3 separate regions of the Homo sapiens genome follow, and all the other regions are linked to region 3. The links are contacts of gene promoters, found by promoter capture Hi-C in blood cells and fetal thymus (Javierre and others, 2016). All regions are on one chromosome and are shown on one strand. The core of a region is centred on a gene start or on the middle of the fragment in contact, and the rest is flanking DNA. Distances in the headings are between cores, read along the strand shown.

Evidence for each region. Contacts are between HindIII fragments. The CHiCAGO score rates a contact against its expected background, and 5 or more counts as called.
Region 1: a contact is called between a fragment that was not itself captured here and the fragment with the promoter of UBQLN2 in region 3, in 5 of 17 cell types (non-activated CD4 T cells, total CD4 T cells, naive CD4 T cells and 2 more). The highest score is 8.4, in non-activated CD4 T cells.
Region 2: a contact is called between a fragment that was not itself captured here and the fragment with the promoter of UBQLN2 in region 3, in 7 of 17 cell types (naive CD4 T cells, total CD4 T cells, naive CD8 T cells and 4 more). The highest score is 13.5, in naive CD4 T cells.

The regions. Positions count from the first base shown.
Region 1 is chrX:56,301,498-56,304,906 of GRCh38, forward strand. No RefSeq gene overlaps it. Among named protein-coding and RNA genes, the nearest start is that of KLF8, 71 kb to the left of the region's middle. The HindIII fragment of the contact is 2,157 bases long and covers 218-2,374 here.
Region 2 is chrX:56,281,316-56,284,880 of GRCh38, forward strand. It overlaps KLF8 (KLF transcription factor 8), which reads left to right. Exons shown (of 6, transcript NM_007250.5): 6 at 2,998-3,565. The coding sequence ends at 3,179. Among named protein-coding and RNA genes, the nearest start is that of KLF8, 51 kb to the left of the region's middle. The HindIII fragment of the contact is 7,753 bases long and covers 1-3,565 here.
Region 3 is chrX:56,560,974-56,564,876 of GRCh38, forward strand. UBQLN2 (ubiquilin 2) reads left to right here and starts at 2,654. Exons shown (of 1, transcript NM_013444.4): 1 at 2,654-3,903. The coding sequence starts at 2,901. RefSeq lists enhancers at 2,357-2,984, 3,381-3,580, 3,591-3,650. The HindIII fragment of the contact is 11,191 bases long and covers 1-3,903 here.

The DNA.
Region 1 (3,409 bases), core at 46-2,545, 260 kb before region 3:
TTAATAAATTAATGGGATGATATTCTGTTCTCCATCAGTTTCTCTGAGATTAATGCCCAAGAGTACTATATTTTGGTGAAATGCTAAATGTCTATTGAGTTTTAATCTTAGTTTTATGGTTTTATTTTGTTTTTTTAATTTCTAGAAATTCTATTTGGTTATTGTATAAATCTGTGGGATCATTGTTTATAGTGTACTGTTCATTACAGGTGTTTTAAGCTTATATTTTACCTCTTTAAATGTAACAAGCATAGTCATTATATGTTTTTTGTCTGAGAATTCCAACATCTGAAGTTTTTGTGGGTCTTTCTCTACTATCAGTTTGTTTATGACAGTTCTCCCTCATAGCTCCTTATTCCGCTCTGTTACTGTTTTTTTTTTTTTTTTTTTTTTTTGTGGTGAGCAGCCCATTCTTGAAAATTTATTTATAGGACTTCTTTAAGAGCTTAGATGATGGAACCTTTTTCCATAGGAAATTGGTATTTGCTTCTTTCAGGTCTCTTGGGGTATTATTAGTGTAGAATGACATTAAATAACAGCTTGAGGCCTTTAGGGCCACCTAGATTATGGGAATTTGGGTAGTAATTCTCATAAGGGTGTGCTCGAGTTATAAAATCTCAGTGATGGCTTCATCCCCTGCAATGCATAGGAACCAGGCAACTTTCTTTGTAGTTCTCTGGGGGTTGCTGTGGGTTGGGTATGTTTACATCTACTTCATTCTTTCACTGAAAATATAGCTCTTTAGGGTTCCAAATTTATGGATTCAGGGTCTCTTGTTAGATTTTCCATCTTACATGGAGTCCAGACTTTGTCTTCCATCCCTTTAGAATACCAAACCCATGAAAACAAGGGTTCAATGTGCAAAAGTGGCTTTGATACTCCTGTTATTTTTGTGGACTGCCACATTTTGTAGATTTTGGCCTGAACAAAAAAACATACTATTTTGCCAGCTCTTTATGATATAAGAATAAGTTTTGTACATTATTTACACTTTAGTTGTTTTCAGCGTAAGCATTAGTCAAGATACCTAACCTACTATTTTACTGATATTGGAAGACTTATCTCTAAATACTTTAAATTTGATCCATATGTGGCTATTTGTTACCATGGAATAAGATAAACCTAAATATAGCAGTGTAGCATAGTGATTAATTACACGGTCTTAGGAGTCATAGAAAAGTGGGTTTAAATTACAGCTCTTCCCCTACCTGTGTCAATTCGGCTAACTTTTAAAATTATTCTGCTGAATTTTAATTTTTGTTTTTTCCTTTTCTCATCACCCACATTTTACTAATTTTAATCCTTTTCCATGTTTGCTTTCAGTCTTCTTTTTTAAAAACATATTTTACGTTCAGAATTACATATGCTGGTTTGTTACATAGGTAAATTGCATGTTTGGTTTGGTTTGTAAATTGGGGTTTGGTGAAAAGATAATTTTGCCACCCAGGTAATAAAAGCATAATACATGATAGTACATGACACGGTAGTTTTTCAATCCTCACCCTTCTCCCTTCCTCCGCCCTCAAGTAGGCCCCAGTGTCTGTTGTTTCCTTCTTTGTGTCCACGTGTACTCAATATTTAGCTCCCACTTATAAGTGAAAATATGTGGTGTTGGGTTTTCTCCTCCTGTGTTAGTTCACTTAGGATAATAGCCTTTAGTTTCATCCATGTTGCTGCACAGGACATGATCTTGTTCATTTTTACGGTTGTAGAGTATTCCATGATGTATATGTATCACATTATCTTTATTCAGCCTACTATTGATGGTCATTTAGATTGATTTCATGTCTTTGCTATTTTGAATAGTGCTGCAGTGGACATACATGTGCATGTGGCTTTATGGTAAAATGATTTATATTCCTTTGGGTATATACCCAATAATGGGATTGCTGGGTCAAATGGTAATTCTGCTTTGAGTTCTTTTGGAAATTGCCAAACTGCTTTCCACAATGGCTAAATTAATTTACATTTCCATTAGCAGTGTACAAGCATAACCTTTTCTCTGAAACCTCACCAGCATTTATTATCTTTTGACTTTTTAATAGCCATTCTGACAGGTATAAGATGGTATCTCACTGTGGTTTTGATTTGCATTTCTCCAGTGATTAGTGATGTTTAGTATTGTTTTCATGTGCTTGTTAGCCATATGTATGTCTTCTTTTGAAAAGTGTCCATTCATGTTATTTGCCCACTTTTTAATGGGGTTGTTTGTTTTTTGCTTATTGATTTGTTTAATTTCCTTATAGATTGATTTGTTTAATTTCCTTGTAGATTCTGGATATTAAACGTTTGTTGGATGCATAATTTTCAGATCTTTTCTCTGATTCTGTAAGTAGTCTGATTATTCTGTTCATAGTTTCTTTTGCTGTGCAGAAGCTTTTTAGTTTAATTGTCATATTTGTCAATTGTCAGTTTTGTTAAAATTGCTTTTGGTGTCTTTGTCATGAAATTGCTGCCAGTGCCTATGTCCAGAATGGTATTTCCTGCATTATCTTCCAGGGTTTTTATAATTTTAGATTTTACATTTAAGTCTTTAATCCATCTTCAGTTAATTTTTGTATATGGTATAAGGAAGGTGTCAAGTTTCAGTTTTCTACATAAGGCTAGCCAGTTATCCCAGCACCATTTATTGAATAAGGAGTCCTTTTCCCACTGCTTGTTTTTGCCGACTTCATCGAAGATCAGACAGTTATAGATGTGTTGCATTATTTCCGGGCTATTTTGTTCCATTGGTCTAATGTATCTATTTTTGTACCAGTACCGTTTTATTTTGGTTACTGTAGCTTTGTAGTGTAGTTTGAAGTTGCATAACATAATGTCTCCAGCTTTGATCTTTTTGCTTTGGATTGCTTTGCCTATTCAAGCTTTTTTTTTTGGTTCCATATGAATTTTAAAAAGTTCTGTGGAGGCCAGGAGTGGTGGCTCACGTCTGTAATCCCAGCACTTTGTGAGGCTGAGGTGGGCAGATCATGAGTTCGGGAGATCGAGACCATCCTGGCTAACAAGGTGAAACCCCCTAAAAATACAAAAAATTAGTCTGGCGTGGTGGCGGGTGCCTGTAGTCCCAGCTACTTGGGAGGCTGAGGCAGGAGAATGGCGAGAACATGGGAGGTGGAGCTTGCAGTGAGCCGAGATCGTGCCACTGCACTCTAGTCTGGGCAACAGAGTGAGACTCCATTTCAAAAAAAAAAAAAAGTTCTGTGGAAAATGTCATTGGTACTATGATAGGAATAGCATTGAATCTGTAAATTGCTTTGAGCAGTATGGTCATTTTCACAACATTAATGCTTCCTATACATAAGCAGGGAATGCTTCCATTTGTTTGTGTCATCTCTGATTTCTTTGAGCAGTGTTTTGTAATTCTTATTGTAGAGAGCTTTCACCTCCCTGGTTAGCTTTATTGTATTTC
Region 2 (3,565 bases), core at 836-3,335, 280 kb before region 3:
TGGGTTGCTTTCTTCATCTAAAACCTGCCCATACCTCCATATTTGTGCCTTCACAGTAACCCAGAGGTTATTAGCTAGCCTTGGAACTTATATCACACTTACTTATTTTTTTGAAACAGAGTCTTGCTCTGTCGCCCAGGCTGGAGTGCAGTGGTGTGATCTCAGCTCACTGCAACCTCTGCCTCCCGGGTTCAAGCAATTCTCATGCCTCAGCCTCCCAAGTAGCGGGACTACAGGTGTGCACCATCACACCCGGCTAATTTTTGTGTTTTTAGTAGAGACGGGGTTTCACTATGTTGGCCAGGCTGGTCTCGAACTCCTGACCTCAAGTGATCCATGTGCCTCAGCCTCCCAAAGTGCTGGGATTACAGGCATGAGCCACCGCACCTGCCATGTCACACTTACTATCTTTGTCACATAGTTAATATATGTGCTTTATATTATGAATTCTTTCTCTGCATATATACTTTGTTCTTTAATTCAAATGATAAGTTGATGGAGATTACAAGTTGTGTTGTATGATGTTCATTGGCACAAACAGGAGCTTGTTCAATGATAATACAAGGGTAAATGCTTTTGAAATAGGAAAATGGGCCTCACTGCTGAATTCCTTTACAATAATTTGTGTGTTCTAGAAATGAGCTCTGATCACCACAGGGTGTCACTGCCTTACAAGTCAAATTTTCCTCAATTGGTTGAGGTGTATATAGGAATTCTCAGAAGACATTCTTGAGAGATCACAACAAAATGTATAGATAGCAATGCAGCCATTGGGAGATGTGGAGATGCTATAAAATCACATAGAACAAAAAGTGAAAATTTAATTTACACACTCTAAACATCCCCTGAAATCCTATTCTTCTTCCCTCTGTTAACAATTTGTTGTATAGCCTTCCAGATCTTTCCTCCTTGGAGAGAGAGAGACAGAGAAGGACAGGCACAAGATTTAGAAAACATAAATGAGATCCTACTCTCCGTGAGCATGTGTGTGTGTGGTTGTTCAGTATCTTTTTTAATTTGATAACATTTCATTTGCCATCTTTTTTGTCTCATTACATCCAGCTTTATCTCATTCTTCTTAGCAGCTAATGCAGCTATTTCTGAATATTGAAATGATCAGTAATTGATGTCTTTAATCTTTGAAATGTTTGCCTTGATATAGTCCAAAGCTGTGATTCAGACTGGATTTCATTCTGTTGCTCATTATGTGAACACTATACAGTTAATTAGCAAACACTTGGGAGGGTTGGTAGGTGGTGTGTAGTAAGTTGGAAAACAGTTTATGCAAGCCAGATTGCCACCAGAATTTAGAACAGCATAAAATTAAATGCCCTAGGTAATTTACAGGGAGTAAAGGGGAAAAGACCGAGAGAAAGAGACTGTTAGAATACCAATGCATTTTTGTGTCTGCATTATTGTTTGTTTCTGATTGTAAAATAATACATGCTCATTGTAGAAGATGGGAAACAGAAAAATGTATTAAGAAGAAAGCAAACATTACCCTAATCCTACAACCCAGACTTATCCACAGTTAATATTTATTGTTGCTCATATAGCTTATTTCCTTTTTCAAAATTTTTATTATATGATACAACATTATGATTTTAAAGCATTTAAAACAGTACAAAAGGGTATAAAGTAAAAATGAAAAGTTCTCTTCCCACCATCCCTGGTCCTCACTTTCCACAAAGTCATTCACTGTTAACAGTTTCTCTCATAATGTACATTTAAGTGTATTGATATTGGCTTTATTATGAGTATACAAATGTATGGTGTGTGATCTATATACCATAATGGGGTCATACTGCGTTAATTTTTTTATACTACTTTTTTTCCATTTAGCTTTCTATCTTGAGCATACATATCCTATATATAATTCAAATACAACCCAAAGATTCTGGGCATGGAGCTATTTCAAAAAGTTTGACCTGACACTGCCCCCCATGCCATTACATGCCCTTGAGTTTCTAACCTTACACAAAAGACCTGTAGCCTTAGCTGAGGGCCCTTTCCAATGAATCACACATTCATCCTGTGTATATATGGCTCTATTTTATTTTATTTTATTTATTTTTTTGAGACAGGTCTCGCTCTCTCCTAGGCTGGAGTGCAGTGGCGCAATCTCGGCTCACTGCAAGCTCCGCTTCCCGGGTTCACGCCATTCTCCTGCCTCAGCCTCCTGGGTAGCTGGAACTACAGGCGCCCTCCACGACGCCCAGCTTATTTTTTTCATTTTTAGTAGAGACGGGGTTTCACCGTGTTAGCCAGGATGTTCTCAATATACTGATCTCATGATCCGTCCGCCTCTGCCTCTCAAAGTGCTGGGATTACAGGCGTGAGCCACCGCACCGGACCATATGGCTCTATTTTAGACTGTTTGGTAGGAGATATTAGAGGAACGGATATTATAAAGTGCCAAAGACCTGAGTTTAGATCCCAGTTGTATTGGTTGCTAGCTATCTTTTAAAAATAAAATGTTTTGAACAACTTTGTGATATATTTTTATCCTTTAGAGATGAGAAAACAGAGACCAAGCCAGGGAGAAGTGATTATATAAGATCACACAGCTAGTTTGTAGTAGAGCCGGATCACACAAAGGCCTATTTGAACAAGAGGCTATGTGCTTCCCACTCTAACATCTTGGACTTTCTTTAGAACTCCTGTAGGTAACAATGTATTGTATTATTGAAAATCAATGAGAGAGTAGATTTCAAGTGTTCTTACCACAAAAAAAGATAAGTATATAGGTAATATGTATGTTAATTAACTCGACTTAGCCATTCCACAATGTATATACATCTCAAAACATCATGTTGTACATTTATACAGTGCTTCTCAATCAATTAATTAACTTAAAAGATTTACAGGCATATGCCTTCAAGGTTATTGCCTAGCCTTTTCACTAAAGCCTTGATACGAGTTATGTATTCTATTATCTTTCTAGTATCCGATCATCCTCTCTCTGATTCTCTTTTTTTTGTCACATTCCCTTTTTAGGAGAGAAGCCTTATAAATGCACCTGGGATGGCTGCTCCTGGAAATTTGCTCGCTCAGATGAGCTCACTCGCCATTTCCGCAAGCACACAGGCATCAAGCCTTTTCGGTGCACAGACTGCAACCGCAGCTTTTCTCGTTCTGACCACCTGTCCCTGCATCGCCGTCGCCATGACACCATGTGAGCCGCACAGGTCACACTAGAGAAGCTGCGCTGGTATCTTTCCTGGTCGTGTGCTGAGGTTGGGACAATTTTTTCCTCTTTGACTTCAGCTTGCATATGGGGTTGAAGCAGCCCACTGAGCCAAGTTGAGGAGACTGGAGGAAAAGAGAGCTGGTCTCCCGTGGGGCTCTTCATATTCTACCTTCACTTCTCCACTGTCCAGACCCGTTTTTTTCAACCTCCACATGGGTTGAATTCCAGTGTGGCACCCATGGCTGCCTTCCCATCCCCCCCTGCTCTGAAATAGGACATTTTTCCTACAGTAACAAAACAGGAATCAAACTCAAGGCTGTGAACAAACATACGCTGCTTTATTCTTTCCAATTTTTCTCTTGTTTTCTAGAACTC
Region 3 (3,903 bases), core at 1,404-3,903:
CAATCGCCAATTAATAAAGATTTGTGTATTTGACTTGATTCTTCAAATACTTTCTTAGATTTACTTAACAAATTTTATTTTTTCTGTTTGTTAATTCATTAATATTTGCTTTTATCATTCTATAGCTGTCACCTCACTTCCCTCCTTTTATTTTCCGTTGCCTTCTTTATTCGAATGCCTACTTCCCTTATTTTCAATCTGTTGTTTGATATTTTAAGTCTTTGAATGTATAAATTTGACTCTGAGTTCATCCACATAGTACTTAATAAATGAAATAATATTAAACTGGACCTTGATACAAATGCAGCTTCCAGTGCACCACTTATTTCAGTAGGTTTGGCGTGGGGCCTAGAAACATGCATTCTTAACAATGTTCTCAGATCACACGTAGAAAAATCCTAGCATTAGTATTGCTGTATATGCTCTCATTATCATTATTTTTGTAAATTTATTCTAATAAGAACATTGCACTTTGCCCCAAAAGTATTCAGTTATGTTTTAATAATCAAATGGTTGGTTTTTTGTTCATACTTTGATTATTAATATCTAGCTTTATTCTATGGAAATTAAAGATTACCTATAATATTTTCATATTCTCACCACCCATAATTAACTATTGCTGATATTTTATCATATTTGCTTTCATTTTAAAGATAAAAAGCATTTTTACATATTTAAGTTCCCTTTACTCACTATCCTGTATCCTATTCCATTTCCTCTTCCTCATGGGTGCAAGTTTGGTATATTTCTAAAAGAATATTTCAAATATACATAAGAATGTATTAGAGTGCTGTTTGGCATGTATTAGGTTGGTGCAAAAGTAATTGCGGTTTTTGCTATTACTTTCAATGGCAAAAACCATTGTATAATAGTAACAATTCGTTACTTTCAATGGCAAAAACCGCAATTACTTTTGCATCAACCTAATACTAATTAATTTGGCTTTTTAGATCTATACATATTAACATATTTAAAGCTAGTCATCTTTTTACCTCTGTATTTTATTAATTATATTAATAAAATAGAGAGGTAAAATAATATTAATTCTTCCATTTCTCCATCGATGGATATAACATACCTGTATATATATATTTTTCTTATCTTCAGATTTATTAAAGTATTTGTGACCTAATGACTTTGAAATGCTGTTAAATGTTGAAAGCAGTGGTGCTTTGGTGGATGCTTGGTAGAGGGTGGGGGTTGGGGAAGAATTTTCTGTGTGGTTTAACCTAGAGTTAGAAATATATAGATAAATTTGAAATTATTTCTTCTATTTTTCAAGTTCTCTTTCTCAGCATTGCTACATCTTTATTGCTCTTACTTAATCTGTAATTAAATTAGGTAAATATGTCAATGTTTGCCACTACTATTATGTGCCTGTCAATTTCTACCCATACTCTTCCCCAAAATACCTTTCTGTAGTGCATACTTACAAAAATCATCAGAAAATTCAAAATCTTATGAAAATAGAAAATAAGAATTATTCATAATTTCAGCAAACAGTACTAACAGCCATTAACTTATTTGTGCATAGCCTTCCAGATTTTTTTACACATACGGTTTACATATACAACAAACTGTTCAAAAATTGCTTTTAAAATAAAAATATATTTATTGTATTTTTGATATTGGAACATATATTCTTATATAGTTTGTAACTGTACAGAAATATACAAAGGCATAATTGAAAATACTCTGTGATTTCCCTATAACTACAGTTTATTTCATGTATACCTTTAAAGACACTCTATATTTTCTTGTATGGTAATATGATAATGTGCTCAACTAATCTCATGTAAACAGATAGTTAATATATTTAAATAACATTTTAAAATGCTACAATGTATATACATTTTATACATAAATATTTTTGCATCCTCATCCGATTATTAGGCGAAGTGTCTAGGTTAGGCATTTCTAAATAAAGGTGGAAACATTCAAAATGCTGATATATATTTTCAAATTGCCCTATGGTTGTAACAATTCACACTTCAGCTAGCCTGAGAGGGCATTTTTTAGGGTCCCTGTCAACAAGAAGGTTTACCATTATTTTTTTCCCTGCCAATATGATAAGCCAAAAGTAGAATTTTATTGTTTTAACTTGATTTCTTTTTATTAGTAGTGAAATTAATCATCCTTTTTTAATGTCTATTGGCCATTTGCACTCCTTTTGTAAAATGCACGCTCCTGCTCTGTCTTCTTCCCTTCCCCTACTGGAGGTGTTCCTCTTTTCTTTTTGCTTTGTCAGAGTTCTTTATTATTCATTTTTCGTCTTATACGTGGGATCTGTTCGATTCAGGCTTTCACCCTTTTACTGCCTTACAGATTGCTAATATACATTCTCCATTGGTCTTTTAATGTCGTTTACAGAAGCTGACTCTCTACCGCCTCCTTCTCTCCGTCTCACCCTCTCTGCCTCGCCTGCTCTGTACTGTTCTGTTCTCTTCTCTCTCTCCCTTTGTTTCTCTCTCTCCCTTTTTTCTTTTCAGTGCAGAAGTTTTTAATTTTGACCGAGCCAAATCTATCAATCTAGGCCTGGCGCCGCGTCAGCAGAGGGGGCGGGGAGGCGAGCGCGGAACTGGGGGAGGGGAAGGGGCGGGGATCAGCAGGCGGAGCGGCTGCCAGAGTTGCTGGGAGTGCGCGCGGTCGGATCACAAGGCGGCGGCGGAGGAGGCCCAGAGACCGGAGCGCGGAGACCTCAGCCAGCGGCCTACGCCCAGGCCTTTCTCCACCGGAGGACCAGGGAACCGCAGTCTTCATCACAGAGGTACCGTGCTCCGCGCTCCCCGCCTGACCCGGCCCAGCCCGCTGCGGCGGTGCCTCCTTCCTTCCTCCTTCCCTCGCGCTCTCTCTTTCGCCCGCCCGCGCCTTCCCTGCCCGCCTGCGTCACCGCGGCCGCCATGGCTGAGAATGGCGAGAGCAGCGGCCCCCCGCGCCCCTCCCGCGGCCCTGCTGCGGCCCAAGGCTCGGCTGCTGCCCCGGCTGAGCCTAAAATCATCAAAGTCACGGTGAAGACTCCCAAAGAGAAAGAGGAGTTCGCGGTGCCCGAGAACAGCTCGGTTCAGCAGTTTAAGGAAGCGATTTCGAAACGCTTCAAATCCCAAACCGATCAGCTAGTGCTGATTTTTGCCGGAAAAATCTTAAAAGATCAAGATACCTTGATCCAGCATGGCATCCATGATGGGCTGACTGTTCACCTTGTCATCAAAAGCCAGAACCGACCTCAGGGCCAGTCCACGCAGCCTAGCAATGCCGCGGGAACTAACACTACCTCGGCGTCGACTCCCAGGAGTAACTCCACACCTATTTCCACAAATAGCAACCCGTTTGGGTTGGGGAGCCTGGGAGGACTTGCAGGCCTTAGCAGCCTGGGCTTGAGCTCGACCAACTTCTCTGAGCTCCAGAGCCAGATGCAGCAGCAGCTTATGGCCAGCCCTGAGATGATGATCCAAATAATGGAAAATCCCTTTGTTCAGAGCATGCTTTCGAATCCCGATCTGATGAGGCAGCTCATTATGGCTAATCCACAGATGCAGCAATTGATTCAGAGAAACCCAGAAATCAGTCACCTGCTCAACAACCCAGACATAATGAGGCAGACACTCGAAATTGCCAGGAATCCAGCCATGATGCAAGAGATGATGAGAAATCAAGACCTGGCTCTTAGCAATCTAGAAAGCATCCCAGGTGGCTATAATGCTTTACGGCGCATGTACACTGACATTCAAGAGCCGATGCTGAATGCCGCACAAGAGCAGTTTGGGGGTAATCCATTTGCCTCCGTGGGGAGTAGTTCCTCCTCTGGGGAAGGTACGCAGCCTTCCCGCACAGAAAATCGCGATCCACTACCCAATCCATGGGCACCACCGCCAGCTACCCAGAGTTCTGCAACTACCAGCACGA